Regions from separate parts of the Homo sapiens genome. Here region 1 is linked to region 2. Evidence: promoter capture Hi-C in human tissues and cell types (Jung and others, 2019). All regions are on one chromosome and are shown on one strand. Each heading gives the region's core, a stretch centred on a gene start or on the middle of the fragment in contact. The rest is flanking DNA. Distances are from core to core; before and after follow the strand shown.

Region 1 (6,206 bases), core at 1,043-3,542, 84 kb after region 2:
CTCGTTCAGGGGCCAGGTCAGGAGCCCCAACTAGGGGGCAGAGCAGACATAGCACAGCCTAGATTTGGGAGCCAGATTCAGACAGGAGCCTGGGTGGCATTGTTCTGAAAGCCGAGAACTCAATGAGACATGGCAATGGTGTTAACCGCTGTGGAGACAAGAGCGACTCCATCGCGGATGCTAACCCGCCATGTTAACTTATGAGTAGCCCCAGTCCTGAGTGCCTCCTGATTCCTACCTTGTTTGTCTCTAGTGTAAGAACAAAGCAACCCTGATGTTATCGCACAAATTATAGGCTATGACGCATGTAGCATTCTTGCCTCTTCCGGAGGGTTGCCTTGCATTGTCCTGCTGGAGTGTGTGCACCCTTTCTCTATGGTATATAAGCCATGGGTCTGGGGAGTAACAGTGCAGAAATCTACCTATCTTGCATCCATGCAAGACCATGCTTCTCTCTGTAAGTTCCCCCCAATAAAACACCCTTTACTGACAAATTGGATTTGTTTGCCTCGTTCTTTGTTTCTCAGCTCCTTCAGCATTTGGGGGCCACTTTGCACATATGGCCCTTTCCCAGAACAACCTCTATCTCAGGCTAAACTCCAAGCCCTAATGAATTGAGGAAGAATGAGGAGCAAGGGGTCAAAAACCTGTACCTTTTCTTCCTACCCTTCTTAGCCTCTTGTTCTTGCAACAAACTATTCTGGGTCTAGACTTGAATTATGCTGGGGAAGGAATCTGTGTTCCGTAAGTTGTCTGTTTCTCTGCCTTTGTAATTTACTTTTTTGGCGTTCCCCCCAGTTTCCTAGCGAAGTGCTTTTTGAACAATCTCAGCCTTGTCTGGACGCCTGAGATTTGCCCACATTTGGGCCGAGACAGCCAAGGGGTTCCAGGGCCCCTGGAAATTTAGCATGGTGGGGCCAGCAGCTGTCTCAGCTGGATTTGCAGGAAACAGCTGGTGGAGCCAGGGCAGAGAGAGGTGAAATCTCGAGAGAGGAAGAGATTGAGAAACAGAGAGAGATGGGAGCAGCTGCAGTTGCTAAGCTCTTCCAGCCTGGGTTCTTCCATTACAGAGGCCTGCCACCGTCTCCAGCTCTCCCCACACTGACTTTACTCAAAAAGACATAAACAAGTTAAAGTAGTGATGCCCCAGGGACTATAAACAGTGAGCATGGAGAGTATCTGATGGGGAATCAGACCTAGGGTTCTTACCTTAGAGCCTGGGTTGTGTTCACCTGCAAAGCTTAACAGCACCTGGGGTGTGATTCAGTTGGAGGGGGGATTATGCCCCAGACATTAGACCATGACTGTTTGGGGATAAGGTCCAATCAGAGAACATAGCATTCAATTGAAATAGCAGGGAATTGGAGGAATTTGGGCTCTCCTGTTAGTTTAGTAAACTGAGAGTCTCTCAAAGATTTGTGTATGGCTCTGGCCTGCGCCTGATAGAAGGCCCTCCCACAACCCGTACCTCCCTTACTCGGTGAGCCATGATTTTTCTTTTTACTTAAAGACCTGGAATTATGAAACAACCGGAGAAACACACGCATTCTTTGACTTATTGCTAGTTGGCCCTTTGGGAGGAATGGCTGAGGTTAGGAAGGTGCCAGAGTTACTCAGAAAGTTCTGGAGGGTACCTACTTCTAACCCACAAATACTTTGCAGACGCAGGCTTGGTTCCTGGGCAGCAGCGGTTAAATTGAAATCTTGATTCTCTTGGTAACTTGATGGCTTAGTTTAGGCCTCAGATTGCTGTTCCATGAACTGCCTTGAAATTTAATCACCCAAATTTATTTCCTAGAGTGTTTTTCACCATCTCCTCCTCTAGGCCCATTAGTCACCATCCCGTGACCTGACAGAGTGATTATTAAAGACCCTGTGGTTCCCTTTCACTAGATTTAGGGGTGTTGGTAACTCTGGAGGCAAGTTCTAACTTGGGTCACAGTTGGGTGGATTTTCCCTCAATTGGTTGTGAATCTTCCCTCAGGGCACCTGGAGGCCTGGGAGAATTACACTGTGTACCTGCCATTTCTTCTTTAAAGCTGGCGAGATGGTTACTGGTGTCTTCTAGGGCTGGTGTTTTCAGGCTAGGGGTTATATTATCCTTTGCCCCTGAGCGCATTACTGACATCTCCCAGCTTCAATTTCCCTTTTGGTAAAAGAGGGATAATGCCCATAAAAGATCGGTGCTGACTGGGCGCGGTGGCTCATGCCTATTATCCCAGCACTTTGGGAGACCGAGGCAGGTGGATCATGAAGTCAGGAAAGCGAGACCATCCTGGCTAACGCAGTGAAACCCTGTCTCTACTAAAAATACACACACACACAAAAAATAGCTGGGCGTGGTGGCGGGCCCCTGTAGTCCCAGCTACTTGGGAGGCTGAAGCAGGAGAATAGCGTGAACCCTGGAGGTGGAGCTTGTAGTGAGCCGAGATCGCGCCACTGCACTCCAGCCTAGGTGATAGAGCGAGACTCTGTCTCAAAAAAAAAAAAAGTCAGTGCTGAGCCTGGCACATCAGCATGCAACGAAATGTTAGCTCCCTTCCCTTCCAGCTGGTACTAGACCTGGGCCTTCCTTTGAGGATCTTGGAAGAGAAATTTTATTAGTCTGATTTAGAAGCATTCTTACAGAACTTTATTTCAAGAATAGTTCATAAATGTTTAACTCTCTCCCCCTTCCAACCTAGTCCTCTTCTAAATAGGGGCTGCAGACCAGGTGCAGTGGTTCTTGCCTGTAATCCCGACACTGGGAGCCTGAGGCAGGTGGATTGCTTGAGCCCAGGAGTTTGAGACCAACCTGGGCAATGTGGCAAAACTCCATCTCTACCAAAAACTACAAAAAAGTTAGCAAGACATGATGGCACGCGCCTATAACCCTAGCTACTCGGGAGGCTGAGGTGGGAGAATCACCTGAGCCAGGGATCTTGAGGCTGCAGTGAGCCATGATGGCATCACCACACTCCAGCCTAGGTGACCAAGCGAGATCTTGTCTCAAAAGAAAAAAAAATGTAAGACAGTGTCTCTCTCCTAGAAACAGTTGTTTCCAGGTGCGAATGAAAGCCAGAATGATCTTGCCTTTTTTTTTTTTTTTTTTTTTTTTTTTTTTTTTTTTTTTTTGAGACAGAGTCTCACTCTGTCGACAGGCTGGAGTGCAGTGGCACGATCTTGGCTCACTGCAACCTCTGCCTCCCGGGTTCAAGCGATTCTCCTGCCTCAGCCTCCTGAGTAGCTGGAACTATAGGCACATGCCACCATGCCCAGCTAATTTTTGTATTTTTAGTAGAGATGGGTTTTCACCATGTTAGCCAGGATGGTCTCAATCTCTTGACCTCGTGATCCACCCGCCTTGGGCTCCCAAAGTGCTGGGATTACAGGTGTGAGCCAGTACGCCCGGCTGATCTTGCCATTTTAAAAGAGAAGCCAGATACCAGCATGTATGATGAAAAGTCTCAAATTTTACATGTTTTCAATTAATTAAAAAATGTAAAATATTGGATAGGTAAAACACAGTATGGCTTCCCACTGGTTAGGATGGCAGTGGGAAGGCTTTGCCCTCGGCAGGCTCTGGATACAGTGTTCTTGTTTTTGTGGCCACCCCCTTCCCCACCCCAAGGGCTGGGCCTTCCTACTGTCTTCTTGGTTGGCCTCTCAAGGTAACTACGTGAGCCTTCTCCTCTCCTGCAGACATGTTGGGCCAGTTAAAGGTTATTCTGTAGAAATCTCAACCAACAAGTCAAAAGATGAGTTTCCTGCTCTTAATAGATAATTTTTATTGGTTTTGCAATAAACGTATGAAATAGAAACAATAGCAATAAACCAGCTCAACAAGAAATCGAAAGGCGCAGGCCCCCAAAGCCCTTCCCGCCTCTTGTTAATGAGTCTCTAATTTATAGACCGGCTTGCAGGCCCACTTTTCTTTTGCCAAGCTTTGCAAACTTTTCCATCTTGGAGGCCCAGGTACTCTGGGGGCTTCTGTGCTCATTTCCACATAGTGGTTGTAATGGAAGTGGTTGTCATGCCAGAAGTGGTGGGGTGGCACTGCCTTGGGGTTTGGGGCCTGAGCCCAACCTTGTCTCCTTAAGGGGACTTGAGGGTCTGTCCCCTTTGATTTTGTTTATCAATGGAGGGCAGAAAAGGAGAGTGACCAGGATAAAAACTCATGCTGAAATGGCCGAGGGCTGTAAGTTTAAATTTTGGAGAGCACAGAGGCCAGGGAGTGGGCACAAAAAGCATGCAGAGGCTGAGGGAAGGGGTTGCATCTTCTACACCCTTGAACTTCGTCTTTTGGAATGTGCAGACTATTTTTAGTTTGTGGTGCTGGGCCTTTTCTCAGGATCCAAATCGGCGTGCCCCACGCCTGCTAAGGGAGGTAGGGTGGGTGGGGGGCGATCCTGGTGTCACTGTAGACACTGATGAGACCTTGCAGCTGTTCTCAGTGGCAATTCAAGCAAGCTGGAGGCCCAGGGTCCCTGCCAGCGGGTGTTTACTTGCCGGGTTACTGGCAGTGTCAGATGAATGATAGCTAAAGTCAGAAGGGCTCAGTGCTCCATTTGAACATTTCCCCTGGGGCCTGTAGCCCAAAGAACAGGTTATCTGTGTTCCTGATCACGCCTCAAAGAAAGTGCAGGCCTCCTCCGGGCTCATGCTCTAACCGTGAGAGTGAGAAAAGAGGACCAAGCGGGGTTTCCGCGTCCACCTCTCCAGGGATTGGATGACCCAGAGTTTGGACGGGTGGCAACAACCCCGGCAGCCCATGGCAGGAGCCCCCAGAGGGCATTCACTTGGGATGCTGATGCTCTCATCCCTGGGGCCAGGTTGGCACTCCAACACCCCCCTTCTCACCCCTTCTGGCCATGCCCAGTGAGGGCAGAGCTGTGGGCCCATCTCTTCTAGAAATTCACAGCAGTGCCTCAGCTCTCTGTGGCTCTTCTCCTCACCCCATCTCCCCACTGCCCAGTGAGCTTGGGGGAAAAGACCGCTGACTTTGCAACCCACAGCCCCTGAAAGTCCCCTTCGATAGCATGCTGTTATGCTTCGAGGACACAGGACTGTGAACTCGAAATTGTCTCGCCTTTGTCACCTCCTGGCAGGTCTTTAGAGCTCGGGGAAACAGCCGAGTGGTACAAATCGCAGCGGCGTGGTAAAGCCCCCCTAATTCCCGATGGGCTGCCTGACTCATATCCGTTTCCCTGGCAAAAAATAAGTTTTTGTTATTGCTGGCTTGGCAGAAGCACGGAAGAGTGCGCGAGGATCTACTGCCCCATGCATCACTGGCCAAATTGCCTGAGAAATCCCAGCTCTAGAACTTTTCATCGTTGGCTGTGATGTACGGAGCAGAACGGCAGCTCCATTTCCCCCGCGTGGGGCTCAGCGACGCTGGCGCTTAGCAGACCTTCTCTGCTTGCAATTCACAGCAAATGTGGCCTCTCCTTTCTCTTCCCCTCTTCTTGGCCTCTTATCCCCCCAACAACCTTTATCTTTCCCATCCCCCCGTCTGCTCATCAACCCCCTCCCTGCTCTCCCCAGCAGAGCCATAGCTGGAGAATCAGGAGGAGGCCTGCAATGTCATTTCCCCATCACTCTGCAGACGATTCCACACTAATGTTCTTTTAATGCTGTGATGCTGCACTAATTAATAAGCATCCTGCACAGAGGCCTCGCCTCTCCTCTCCTCCCCTCTCCTCCTCTTCCCTCACTGCCCCTCCCCACCAGCCCCCCGAGAAGGCCTCGTCACATCCTGGCATCTGGCAGCAGAGAAAGGATTTCACTCTTGTACCTGGGCTGCCTGATATTGCTATGAGAGATAACTGTATACGAACCAATAATCTAGCCTGACAATCCAATTTACTGACCAATAGCGCACAATCCACCATGTCATCGGCTGTGGGGAGGCCCATAAATTAGTTCCTAGTAATTTATTCTGATCAATAGAATGGGCAAAGTCACTTGTCTCTTTAATCAAAGGCCCTCTCAGAGATGTCAGTGCAGGCAGCTGCGTGGGAGGGAGCAGGGCTCTGTGAGCAACAAGGCAGTGGGTGCTAGCACCACACTCCTGCCCTGGCTTCCAGAACCCAGAAGCCTCCCCAGAATGGGGCTAGTGTGGGAGGGGCCCAAGGTCCAGGCTGCCTATGCTTCCCTTGGTCACCCCAACCATAAAACATTGGCTTTCAAACAAGCTAAGGACAGAAGAGGCCATGACAGTAATTAAC
Region 2 (5,791 bases), core at 1,593-4,092:
ACTTACCTTCCTTACAAGACCCTAGATGCCCACAACCCGAAACCCAAGGTCATGACCCTCTTCTGGCCAAGTCAGAAGCTCCACTAGGCCCTCAAGTCAAAGGAGCTGGGGTTCTTGGAGAGAATGCCTGCTTCTCCCAACAATGAGATGCAACTCGGTCAGCAGCTGCCCCTGCTGCCTGCGGGGGTGCCTTATGCAGGAGGGCCTAACCAGAGAGGTTTAATGGACCTTTGTTTATTTTGTCCTGCTTTCCCTTTGTTTTTTCTTTTCCCTGGCCTGAGAGCTCCCTCTGGAATTTCTCTTTAATTATAACTTCTTGGTATTCCTCTCCAAGGGGGTGCACATCTCTGCCCACGCCAGTCTGTATTGCACCCTCTGGCTAGGCATCCACACGTGTCCCTATCTGCAAGTAGGCATTCACAGGCATTGGGGTGGGTACCTAGGATCCCCCTGGTTGCACAGGTATAATGTCTGTGCAGAAGGCTGTAGTGTGCAAGGCCAGTTGAGACATAAGCAACGTGAAGAAGGTAAATGATGGGATCCCTGAGCCCTTGGCCCCTCCCGACACATCTTGGACCCTCCCTCAAGCCAACCAGTTGGGGATGGGATGGGGGTGGGTGGCAGGCCTCTCCCAACCCCTGTAACAGGCCTCCTAATCACCAAGGGGTTCCTTGAAGAGTTCCTGGGCTGGGTGAGGTGTGGAGAGACCTAATACATTCCATCTCATCAGCCACCCACAGGCAGGGCCAGAGGGTGCCACTGGTGCCTCCTCTCCCAGGTCAAATATTAACTATCTGGCCTTGGAAAGAGGGGAGGAATCAGGAACTGGCCAGAGGGATAACAGGAGCAATTATTCAAGAGGTAAAGGTCAGCACTGCAGGGGCAGAGCCCTGAGGGGTAGAGTCAAATATGAAAGGGAGAGAAGAGGATTCCCTGACCCTGAAAGGGCATAGGCTCCCTGTTTGGGATCTGGGACAGCAGGAAGCTTCAGGCAAGCCGGCCATGCCCCACCCCTCCCTGTGGAGGCACACCTGTTTACCTTTGGGACCTCCTATTTGCTCAGTGCAAAAGGCATGTGTGTGGGGAGCACTATGGCTAGGAGGAACATGCCCCAGGTTAGAGGAGCCACTCAGTGTGGTGCATGTCACACTTATAGTTTAAGAGTCACATGGGTGACTATTAGGAAGGTGATATACATGCACATGGGTGCACACACACACACACACACATGTTCACAAGGAGGACTGTGAACACGTGGATTCACAGGGGTCATTCACACATATACTCACAGGGAGTTTTGTGCACACATATGCTCATACAGAGGGCCACAGCCACAGGTAATCATACATATTCACATGTGACGTTGAATTTACATGCCCATCCATTCAGCAGGTCACACAGCCTCAGACATTGAGGAGAGATAAACCCACACATGTGGGTTTGTGTCAAGGACTGTGCACCTATTCAACAGGAGGGTCCTATACATACACATGTATGTGTAGGGACATGCACACAAACCCATTGATATAGTGGGCCAGGCAATCATGTTCACAGAAGGGTCAAGTACATGTGTGCTCACACGCAGTTCTTGAACACACAACTACATCCATGCAGAGACAAGCACACATGCATACAGGGGTCCAGTTTTTGCCATAGGCTTGGAGGCTGCCAGTGTCCACTGGGGTGAGATGCAGAGCAGAACCCTGCCTCTGTTCCTGAAAGTCCCAATTCTAAGGCCCAATTTCAAGTGTGTGTTTGTGTGTGGGGGTGGTGAGGGGGTTGTGTGTGTGTGTGTGTGTGGTGATGGGGGAGGCTTCTGACCTTGGATGGGCAGATGGGATGGGTGCATGAGTCAAGGCCGCTCTACAAGGGAGGGAATGGGAAAGTAACTCAGGCAGGAGGAGGCCCCTAGCTTCAGCAAAGATGGAATGGAACGCATAATTTAGTACTCCTCCACCCCTATGTATATTGCGGTTCTAAAGGTGGGAGACGGGCTGGAGCTCTCAGCCCCCACTTAACCTGTGGGAGGGGGCGGGGCTAAGTGGGCGGGGCGGAGCATATCACCCCTCCCTTCAGTGGCGAAGTACGGGTTTAAGGTCTCCAGTCCACGCCCCACACTCCACCCCAAGTTCCACAGTTCGGGTTCTTCCCCAGGGCCAGCCCCCTGAACTCTGATCACCTTTCCTCTATTAGATCTTGGGGTGGAGGGAACTGGGGAGGAGAGACCCTTCAAACAGGATCAATGGAGGATCAGCAGGCTCTCGACCTTCATCCCAGATGTCCACCTGCCTAGTGTAGGCGGTATTTCCCTCTGCCTAGTAGGATGGCGGTCTCTCCTGGCTTGAGAGAGCCCCTCCCCCGGGACCCCCTCCCTCCAACATCCTGGACAGTCCGCGGTCCTCTCCCTTCGTCAGGTCTAACCTCAGTCTCTACTGCTGCAGCTCGAGGACAAGCTCTCCTTCGATCCCGCCGGACGCCGGGAGACGTGACCCAGATCCTGGGGAACACTGTTCGCCACGCGGCCCCCTCCCCGCGCTGGTCCCCGACTCCGTGGTGGCCGGTTTGCACCCCGCGCAGCCCGAGGCCTGGCCCGCGCCCCTCTAGAGCCGTCATGCAGGACCGGGGGACTTGGTGGTGAGAAAGGCCTGGCCCAGCTTGGAGGGTAGAATGGACGTGGGGGAGGCCTTGCCCGACCCCCGGCCCGCAGCCCCAGGCTCACGCCAGGGCGCCGCCCGCACTCCTCGCCTTGCTCACCTTTGCGCTCGGATCCGGGGCCATAGAGACAGCGACGCGCGGCTCCGCGGCCCCACAGCACCAGCTGCGAGAGGAAGGGGCCGCGGCTGGAGGCGGGGCGGGGGGGGGGTGGTGGAGGCGGAGCCGGGGGTGGGGCGGGGTCCTGAAAGGCGGGGCCGACTGGGTGGGGTGAGGGGAAGGTCGCCACTCTCTTCTTTGCGCCCCCTACTCTAGCACAATAGAGGCGGTTTGAGGGCGAGGCTCACACACAGCCTTCGGCCATCGGGCGACCCCCCACCTCTAGGCGCTGCGGCCCTGAAATCGCCCCCTGGTGGTGGCCTCGCCACCCCGTGCACCCTCCACATGCTTATAGCCCGTCCTCTCCTCCGCTGTAACCCTAGGACCCCCCTGACTTGCCTACTGCTGGGGACGTGCAAACCTGTCCTGGCGTTGCGGGGTTGGGGGACCCTCTCGGAGGGCCTTCTGGCCTGTCCTCTAACCTGGACCTCACTCCCTGTGCTCCTGCCACCCGCTTCTGCTCTCGGCCTAGGGTGTGGAGGGAAGGCTACCCTAGGTGGCGACTGGACGTTAGGGAAGCTCTGAACACAAGGTAGGGGCTTGATTCCCAGCTTCAGGGGCTGTTCAGCTTGAGCTATGCGTGGGGGAGATGGGGTCAGGCCTGAAGGGGATAAAGTAACAGCCTGACCTGAAAGGCACACAGAAAATGCTTTTTCTGGATAAATAAGCCACAAGCGTTTGCACCTGTTCACTCACCAAATCTTAACCCTAACCTAGGCTCACCTCAGGGACTGGGTCATTCAAACACTTGCCTTCCCCTCCAGCTCATCTTGGGCACCATTCTTATCCAGAACTTAGAGTGCACCCTTCTAGGCAATCAAGTACCCTATCCTTCCCAGATTCAATCACCTTACCCAGCAGCAATCTAGGAAACCCCTCACAATCAACTCCCCAACTCCTTTAACTCAACTAGGATGGTCCTTCTGTGCAAACTTGGTTCCTGCCTCCTTTAATAGGTCACAGCCTATTAAAGTGAACTTAGCCCCTATAGTCCAAACAAAACCTGCATTCAGGCCCTGACCCAGCCTGGTCCTTCCTCCTCCATCCATGACAGTATTCATGTGGGCTCAAGAGATGGACCAAAATGATAAAGGCCACAGGAACATATGTGATTGACTCTTGCATGTGCCTAGGAGTCAGAACAGGATTCAAGTGGCACATTTAACTAAAGGAAACTTGGGAAAGGCTTCATCCTTCTTTCTGGATTCCCCAAAGCTCACAGTTTGGCACTGAATCATATACAATCTCGTAGTTTGGATGGCTGTGTGTGACTGCAGACTGCTAGACAGCAGGGCCCACATCACAGTTCCACCTCCCCCAACACTCTGCAAATAGGATGTGTGTGGCGGGGAGAGGGAAGGTAGCTGGGGAGAAACACAATAAAAAATGTACACACACTTTTACAAAGAATATCCTGCTTCATTTTTTATTTGTACCCTCATCCCATCCTGAGGAATTTATAGCCCCATTTTATGGATGGGGAAACAGGCTCTAAGACATTAAGTAACTTGCCTTGAAGTTCATTCTTGTGTTTATGGAGAGGACAATCAAGACTGGAAAAGTCTGAGAAGGAGGAAGCAGGGTAAGCCAGAAGGGGAAATACCATTGGCAAAGGTAGAAATGTTCAAGCTTATGCACAGGCTTGTGTTGGGGAACTAAGGAAGGGGCATGAAAGAGGGCAGTGAGTTTGATTTGATGAAATGGCTGGGGGGGGGGGGGGGGCGGGGAGGGGTTCCTAGTGGGAAATAAAAGGGAAAAGTCAGCTAGTAGTTTGAAAAAGACCACAGAAGAAAATCCTGAAAGAGATGATGGACTGAGTAAGGACGTCTGAGGTGGGAAGACCAGTCAAGGCAGGGCTAAGAAAGATAAATCTGCAGTCCTTATCAAAAAGTGGGTTGGTGGTAACAGTGGAGGCAGGGTAGGAAGACTGCTGGTCCTTCAGTAGCAGATAGGAGAGCAATTAAACTGTAGGGGCCCAGGGGGCTAAGAGGCACAGCTTCCCAAATGTTCACAGAACCTGCAGTGCTGACTTCAGATAGCTCTGGAGGTGGCGAGTAGGCCAGTGTGGTAGGCTCAGTATCACTCAACTTCACTTTATGAACCAAGCTTTGCTCCTCTGAGGTGCTGATGGCAAACTCAGACATTGTTAAATGAGCAAAATGTGTGATTTCAATGATCACTGGGCAGTTACTTCAGTACTTTTGATAGCAGACCACAATCCATTTCCTTCTGCTAGCCTCCCAGTAAAATCTCTAAACCTAATGAGAGTATCAGATGTAAAAGCAATTAATGGAGCTGCCCATAGGAAGCCCTTTTGATTGACAGTATGTCTCTCTGCAAATCCAGCTGGTAAAATAAGAACGGGGGAATACTGACAGACAGTGGAAAAGAAAACTGGAAATCAACTAAAGAAATTAACCCTAACCCAGCCATAAATCTGCATCCTGGGACACAGGCAGGTCATTCTTTGAACAGGCTGTCACTCATCCATAAGGTCACTACCCTGGCTGCTTCGCAGGGTGGCTGTGAGAGGATTCCATTTGGAAACCTTCTGGAGAACTTCACACACACAGAAAAGTATGAGTTTTGTTTTTGCTAGTCTATTTTCCCCAACTTTGCTGTAAGAAAGTGGCTGAGGGTAGTGCTGGCCGTCTTCAGCAGTGATTGTCAGCCACTTACACACCAGAGTTTAGCTCCACTTTGCACAGAACAGTTACTTACTGTAGCAGGGATCCTAGGTGAAGGGGGTGGGTATGAATTCCTGAAACTTGAGCAGGTTCCCTGAAGCAAGAGAACTCTGGCCTAGTCAAGTTGTCCTGCTTACTGTTCAATGTGGCAGCATTTCTGTTCCTGCTTTGCCATCTCCATCTCTGGTTTGCCCAGCACTTTCCCTTTAGGTGGTGTGGTCTTTATTTTGGCTATATATACAGCTGAGGTGCTTCTTCTGTAGGGGCTGTCACCAGTGCAACAATGCGGAAGT

The links. The method cuts DNA at HindIII sites, captures the fragments that hold promoters and counts their contacts. A contact is called where the count stands out against the background at its distance.
Region 1: a fragment that was not itself captured here is called in contact with the fragment with the promoter of SEMA4G in region 2 in 2 of the 25 tissues and cell types used here (IMR-90 fibroblasts and spleen).

Annotation. Positions count from the first base shown.
Region 1 is chr10:100,881,924-100,888,129 of GRCh38, reverse strand. No RefSeq gene overlaps it. Among named protein-coding and RNA genes, the nearest start is that of SLF2, 28 kb to the left of the region's middle. The HindIII fragment of the contact is 5,759 bases long and covers 1-5,171 here.
Region 2 is chr10:100,966,555-100,972,345 of GRCh38, reverse strand. It overlaps SEMA4G (semaphorin 4G), which reads right to left and starts at 2,842. Exons shown (of 15, transcript NM_017893.4): 1 at 2,755-2,842. RefSeq lists a silencer at 2,826-2,885. The HindIII fragment of the contact is 9,481 bases long and covers 1-4,679 here.